Regions from separate parts of the Homo sapiens genome. Here region 2 is linked to region 1. The links are contacts of gene promoters, found by promoter capture Hi-C in blood cells and fetal thymus (Javierre and others, 2016). All regions are on one chromosome and are shown on one strand. The core of a region is centred on a gene start or on the middle of the fragment in contact, and the rest is flanking DNA. Distances in the headings are between cores, read along the strand shown. Region 1 holds the start of LRRC8C (leucine rich repeat containing 8 VRAC subunit C). Region 2 has its middle 9.7 kb from the start of RBMXL1.

Evidence for each region. The method cuts DNA at HindIII sites, captures the fragments that hold promoters and counts their contacts. A CHiCAGO score of 5 or more calls a contact.
Region 2: a fragment that was not itself captured here is called in contact with the fragment with the promoter of LRRC8C in region 1 in 1 of 17 cell types (naive CD8 T cells); the score reaches 6.4 in naive CD8 T cells.

Annotation. Positions count from the first base shown.
Region 1 is chr1:89,631,595-89,634,859 of GRCh38, reverse strand. LRRC8C (leucine rich repeat containing 8 VRAC subunit C) reads right to left here and starts at 1,740. Exons shown (of 3, transcript NM_032270.5): 1 at 1,538-1,740. LRRC8C-DT (LRRC8C divergent transcript) reads left to right here and starts at 1,966. Exons shown (of 3, transcript NR_033981.1): 1 at 1,966-2,203; 2 at 2,651-2,844. RefSeq lists enhancers at 769-818, 849-898 and a silencer at 1,279-1,938. The HindIII fragment of the contact is 6,667 bases long and covers 1-3,265 here.
Region 2 is chr1:89,000,721-89,003,985 of GRCh38, reverse strand. No RefSeq gene overlaps it. Among named protein-coding and RNA genes, the nearest start is that of RBMXL1, 9.7 kb to the right of the region's middle. The HindIII fragment of the contact is 3,251 bases long and covers 3-3,253 here.

The DNA.
Region 1 (3,265 bases), core at 491-2,990:
CCAAGACAGAACTTAATCACTCCAGAGTAAAGCAAACCAATTATAGCCTTGGCCTTCCCTGTTAAAGCAAGTCACAAGAAATGCAAATATCCTAGACTAGAGCTGTATACATTTAATGTTTGTTTACACACTCAACACATTGTTTATGAATTGAGCGAGTTTTATGCAGCTCAGATTACGTTTTGGGTTTTCAACAAATTATTTAAAAATAAACAGAATTTATAAATGTATAAAAATTATTGGCTCTGGCGATTTTGCAGCATTGTGCTAACCAAGAGGACTACTCCACTTTTACTCCTTTTTCGTCTAAATGGCATCTTAATGACCTGCCCACGCTGAAGCCTCATCGATGCTTTGGGAAACCATCACATACCTGTCGGGAAATGTGACTGTTGGTTAAGGCTACGTTTCTCACACTACCGCGAAAGAAGTATGTGACTTACAAACGGCTGCGATTTCCTTTACCTATTCCTTCCTTCAAAGGCTGCTTTAAATGGAGGTAATTCAAGCCTCCCCGTGCCAAACACCGGCACTCCAACAAAGATGGATTGGTTCTTATTTTTTACTTTGAGGATGGGAACCTGAAAATGTTTCCTAACGTTTGCTGAGGCTTTAACATGTTTAAGGAATTTGAAACCAAGGGAAGTTTAGCCGTAATACTCTGAAATATCCGCATTAGGATGCGGGCTAGGTGTCCGGCTGTTGCAAAACTACGGAGGATGCGAGGTTTGGAAGAAACTGTTTGGACTTTGCTGTATACCGGGCAGGCGTGGGGGTTGGGGAGGGAAGAACCGGCTGAGGGAGAAAAGAAAGGCATTCGTGTCCACAGAACACATCTAAGGCTCCTGAGTTGCTAACTCCATCCCTAATCATCTCATTGGTGGGAACCAGCTGGAAAGGGAAAGATCAGCGAGCCTAGGCGTGGGATGAAGGCAGCGGTTTTGGCCTCAACCGCTGGCCTAAACACCTGGCTTCTGGGGCCCGCCCGATCAAGCTGAACCCCTTCCCTCCTGTCCTGCAGGTGAGCACACGGTGCTCTCACGTTTCTTCGAGAAACCTTCCAATTCCTTTCCCTGCCCAAAAGTGCTAACTTCAAGGGTTCGGAGGTGGCAGGGGGGTGATAGACCGGAAAGGACTGGCCCCGGGGTCTCAGAGATTTTCGAGGTAGGAAAGAACAACGATCGCCCCGGCCACGGACGCATTTCCCCTCGCGGACCGCCCCCCCACCCCCGCGCCCAGTCTGCAGGACCTGCCGCTGCGGCGCGGCGTTGGGCGCCAGGCTGAGATCCTCGCGCGGCCGCTCGGGCTAGCGCGGATTGGGTGGGGTAGGGGTTGGCGGGCTCCTGAGCCGCAGTAGCGGAAGGTTCCCAGCACCACACGCCGGGCGGGCAACCACATTCTGCCTGTCTGAGAGCCGGGGGGAAGCAAGGACGCGAGTGAGGCGGGGCGAGTCCCGGTCCGGCGCGCACAGCGGACCGAGCGGGTGGCCCTCTGCGGGCTGCCCCTCTCCATCCCTCCGCGGATCCCCCGCCCTTACCTCCGGGCGCGAGAGTGTCGACTGGAGAAGGTGCTAGGGAGCGGCGAGCTGCCTGGGGGTCGGGCTCAGCGGCTGCCAGGGACGGCGGCGTCGCCCGCGGGGTCGCTGCTCATGGCTTGTCGCGCCCGAGCACTGCGGCCGCGGCCACGGCGGCGCCTTCCTCCTACTTCTCTTCGCGGGCTTCCAGCCGGGACGCAGCTAACGCCCCAGCCCCGCAAGCCCTCCTCCCCTCCGCCTCCCCGGCCGCGGACGGAGCCGCCTCCAGCGCCGCCCCGCACGCAGCCCGGCTAGCGGCAGCCAGCGCCGCCCAGCGCCCGGCCCCGGGGTCGCCACCGCCCGCCGAGTCGACTCCGCGGTGCCAGCCCCGCTGTGACGCAGGCCGCGCCGCCCGGGAACTTCCTCCCCTGCAGAGACCACCTCGCTCCCGGGACTCGCCAGCGAGGGATGCCGCCGGCCGCCGGGGGCCTTCTCCAGGACCAGGAGAGAAATCCTCTCTCCGCTTCACGACGCGGCCACTCCCACCCCTGAGACGCCCACCTGGCGGACTCTGAGGGAGGATTCGGCTGCGTCTAATACCACCTCCACCCCTCATCCCTCACAATGCGCGGAAAACCACAGGCGGCTGTGCGCGCAGCGTCGGCTCAGCCACCGCAGCTCCTCCCCTGGGTAAGTTAGAGGGGAGCAGCCACCACTAAAAATAGCCCTTCTGGGAACTCCTCCGAAGGCCAGGGTCAGGATGAAGATAACCCCTCCACAGGAGAAGCGAAGGCCTCCTAAGAGAAGGGTGGGGAGGGGACGGTGGGATAGAATGAGGAAGATGGAGAAGGAGAAAAGCAAAACCCAATATCCTTGGATCATGAAGCCCTTGAGCCCCTTGACAACCAAGTCTCCTTTCAGGCCGGAATCCCCAACTGCACCGCCCCTGCAATACGGGCTAAGGGGCAGATTCCAGGGAGACTCAGTTGGAATGCCCCGCCTACAGCTCCCGCATAAAGGAGTTGACGGTGCACAGCAAAACCACCTGTTGTTTAACGAGTATGGAGGGAGGGGTTCTCTCTCATTGATTGATCTGAACCGTGCTTTTCTTCTCCCCATTTTCCCACCCAATTTCAGGATGAAAAAGCACTCTGACGTCTTGAAAGCTGGCAGCTCTCTGTTTGGAAAATCTCTGCCCAGTGAAAAAATGTACCGACAAGATTACTAAGTAACACAGTCTTCTGGGAATGCCTTATCAATGCCAGCTATTTGAAGAGCACCCAAAGTCAAACTAGTGCTCCGCGCTGGCAGTCTGGAAAAGGCAGATGTATGTGAGTAGAGAAACTGATAGACAACTAGTTGCTGGCCAGTTGGCCTGTTTTCGTGCTACAAGCCTTCAGAAAACAGTCGCCTCCTTTTACCACGTTTCTATTTCTAAACCAAAATGAAAAGGACGTTTGTTCAAAAGATATTCTCTTGGGCTTTACATTGCTTTCCCCCTGCTCACTCAGCAAAATCCTACACTTTTTTTCCAATTCCAATGCTGCTGTTGGGTGTCCTTCCCAGAAGACAACCTTAAATTCTCTTAGGCCTTAGGAGCTGAATCTAACACCAGTCTTAATTAACCTACAACAAGACAAAAATTTAGGTCCGGGCTTACCTCCTAGTCAGCAGATGGGAAAAATTCCTAGAGAGTCTCTGGGAAAAAGGCAAAGGCTAACTTTAGCAGTTTGCTAGAAAAAAAAAAATTCA
Region 2 (3,265 bases), core at 379-2,878, 630 kb after region 1:
CTTGGAAAACATATTTGGGGGAATAATTGAGGAAAACTTCCCCAACCTAGCTAGAGACCTACACATGCAAATATAAGAAGCACAAAGAATACCTGGGAAATTCATCACAAAAAGATCTTCACCTAGGCACATTGTCATCAGGTTATCCAAAGTTAAGATGAAGGAAAAAAATCTTAAGAGCTGTGAGACAGAAGCACCAGGTAACCTATAAAGGAAAACATATCAGACTAACCTAGCAGATTTCTCAGCAGAAACCGTACAAGCCAGAAGGCAATGCGGCCCTATCTTTAGCCTCTTCAAACAAAACAATTATCAGCCAAGAATTCTGTTTCCAGCAAAACTAAGCATCAAACGTAAAGGAAAGAAACAGTCATTTTCAGACAAAATTGCTGAGAGAATTCACCATTACCAAGCCACCACTATAAGAACTGCTAAAAGGAGGTCTAAATCTTGAAACGAAGCCTGGAAACACACCAAAACAGAACCTCTTTAAAGCATAAATCATACAGGACCTACAAAACAAAAATACAAGGTAAAAAGCAAAAGCAAAAAACAAAAACAAAAAAATAACAAAGTACACAGGCAACAAAGAGTACGATGAACGCAAGGATTACCTCACATTTCAATACTAACATTGAATGTAAATCACCTAAATGCTCCACTTAAAAGATACAGAACTGCAGAACAGATAAGAACTCACCAATCAACTATCCACTGTCTTCAGGAGACTCACCGAACACATAAGGACTCACATAAAGTTAAAGTAAATGGGTGGAAAAAGCCATTTCATGCAAATGGACACCAAAAGCGACCAGAGGTAACTATTCTTATATCAGACAAAACAAACTTTAAAGCAACAGTGGTTAAAAGAGACAAAGAGGGACATTATATAATGATAAAAGGCTTGTCCAACAGGAAAATATCACAATCCTAAACATATATGCACCTAACACTGGAGCTCCCAAATTTATAAAATAATTACTAATAGACCTAAGAAATGAGATAGACTGCAATACAATAATGCTGGAGGACTTCAATACTCCACTGACAACACTAGACAGGTCATTAAGACAGAAAATCAACAAATAAACAATGGATTAACTATACTTTGGAACAAATGGACTTAACAGATACATACAGAAAATTTCTTCCAACAACCTCACAATACACATTCTATTCAACCGTGCATGGAACTTTCTCCAAAATGGACCACATGATAGGCCATAAAATGAGCCTCAATAAATTTAAGAAAATTAAAATTATATCAAACACACTATCGGACCACAGTGGAATAAAACTGGAAATCAACTCCAAAGGGAATCTTCAAAACCATGCAAATACATGGAAATTAAATAACCTGCTCCTGAATGAGCATTGGGTCAAAAACAAAATCAAGATGGAAATTAAAAAATTCTTCAAACTGAATGACAATAATGACACAACCTATCAAAACCTCTGGGATACAGCAAAGGCAGTGCTAAGAAGAAAGTTCATAGCCCTAAACACCTACATCAAAAAGTCTGAAAGTGCACAAACAGACAATCTAAGTTCACACCTCAAAGAACTAGAGAAACAAGAACAAACCAAACCCAAACCCAAACCCACCAGAAGAAAGGAAATAACCAAGATCAGAGAAATAAATGAAATTGAAAAAAACTACAAAAGATAAATGAAACAAAAAGCTGGTTCTTTGAAAAGAAAAATAACATTGATAGACCATTAGCAAGATTAACTAAGAAAAGAAGAGAGAAAATCCAAATAACTTCACTAACAAACAAAACAGGAGGTATTAAACCTGACACCACTGAAATACAAAAGATCATTCAAGGCTACTATAAACTCAGCAAAATTAAGTTACTTCCTCCTTAGTTTGGTAGCATCAATGTCCTGACCCAAATCCATATCATCTGACTTCTGATTTAGTGCTTTTCTTTAATATCTCCAGGAATCAAATAAAGCTCACTGTCCAAGGAGGCATGTTGCTTTCACCAGTGCTCCTCAATCCTGATATGCATTAAAATCACCTTATTAAGTATAAAGATTCCCTGGCCCCTACCCTTCCTCTGACTTTCTGACATAGTAGGTCTGAGAGTGTCATTGAGTGCAACAATGACAAGAAAATGGCAATGCAATGCTATGATTTTCTTGCATTGTTCCTGGATCTACAACCAGGAGTACTGGCCATTGGGAGCCTGAATAAGTTGGCTCTGGAATCCTTTTGGAATGACCCTGTAGCCTTCTCACTATCTGTATGACAAGGTGCTTCAGGTTTCCCTTATTCATTTCCTGTTTGCTGAAGCTACCATAGCTTAAGGCCTAAAATTGCTGGCCTGTATGGTATGTGTCTCTGTGCCAAAAATATTTTCAGTTTACAGAAGTATTTCTTCTCTTGTTTAAGTAATAAGTTGCTAGTTTTCCTTCTCTGAGTTTAGTGAAAGGAAATACAAGCTCCTCTGATCCACAGGGAAGGAGCACATCAAACACTGAGATCCTGACAAAAAAAAAGAAAAAAAAAGGCAGAAATCCCTCAGTGAAACCTGTCCAATCAGTCTTACAAATGACCAGGCTCAAGAATCAACAAAGCCAAATAAAGTGTTTCTACCAAAAAAATTTTAAAAAACATCAAGATTTAAGAAATACTTTTAATCTTTGATGCATTAAATAGTAAAACTAAAAATCAACATTTCAACATTCTGACAACTCTATGTGTATAACTTCTGCAACTCAAATGGACTAATTTCTGAAAAAAGCACAAACAAGCAACTAAAACTCACCCAAGTTAAAATAGATAACCTGAACTGTCATATAATTTCTAAAGAAACTGAAATGGAGTAAAAAAGTTAAGAATCTGAAAAACAAATCTCCACATCCAGATAGTTCCTCTTGACTGGCAAACCTTACTAAGCATTTTTTAAATAATTCCAATTCTTAATAATTTCTTTCAGAAAATATAAAAGGGAACATTTCCCAATTCATTCTATGAGCACAGCATCATCCTGATAACAAAATTAAACAAATACAGTACAAAAGTAAACTACAGACCATTATCCCTCATAAACATAGATGCAAAAATCCTCTACAAACTATTAACAAATCAAATCCAGCAATATAGAAAAATAATGCACACCAATCAAGTGGGATTCATCCTGTGGATGTAAAGCAGTTCAAAAATCAACTAGTGTAATTCACCACACTAAAAGTCTAAAGAAGGAAAAAAAATCACATGGTTATATAAATAGATAAAGAAAAAGCTTGATAAAATATG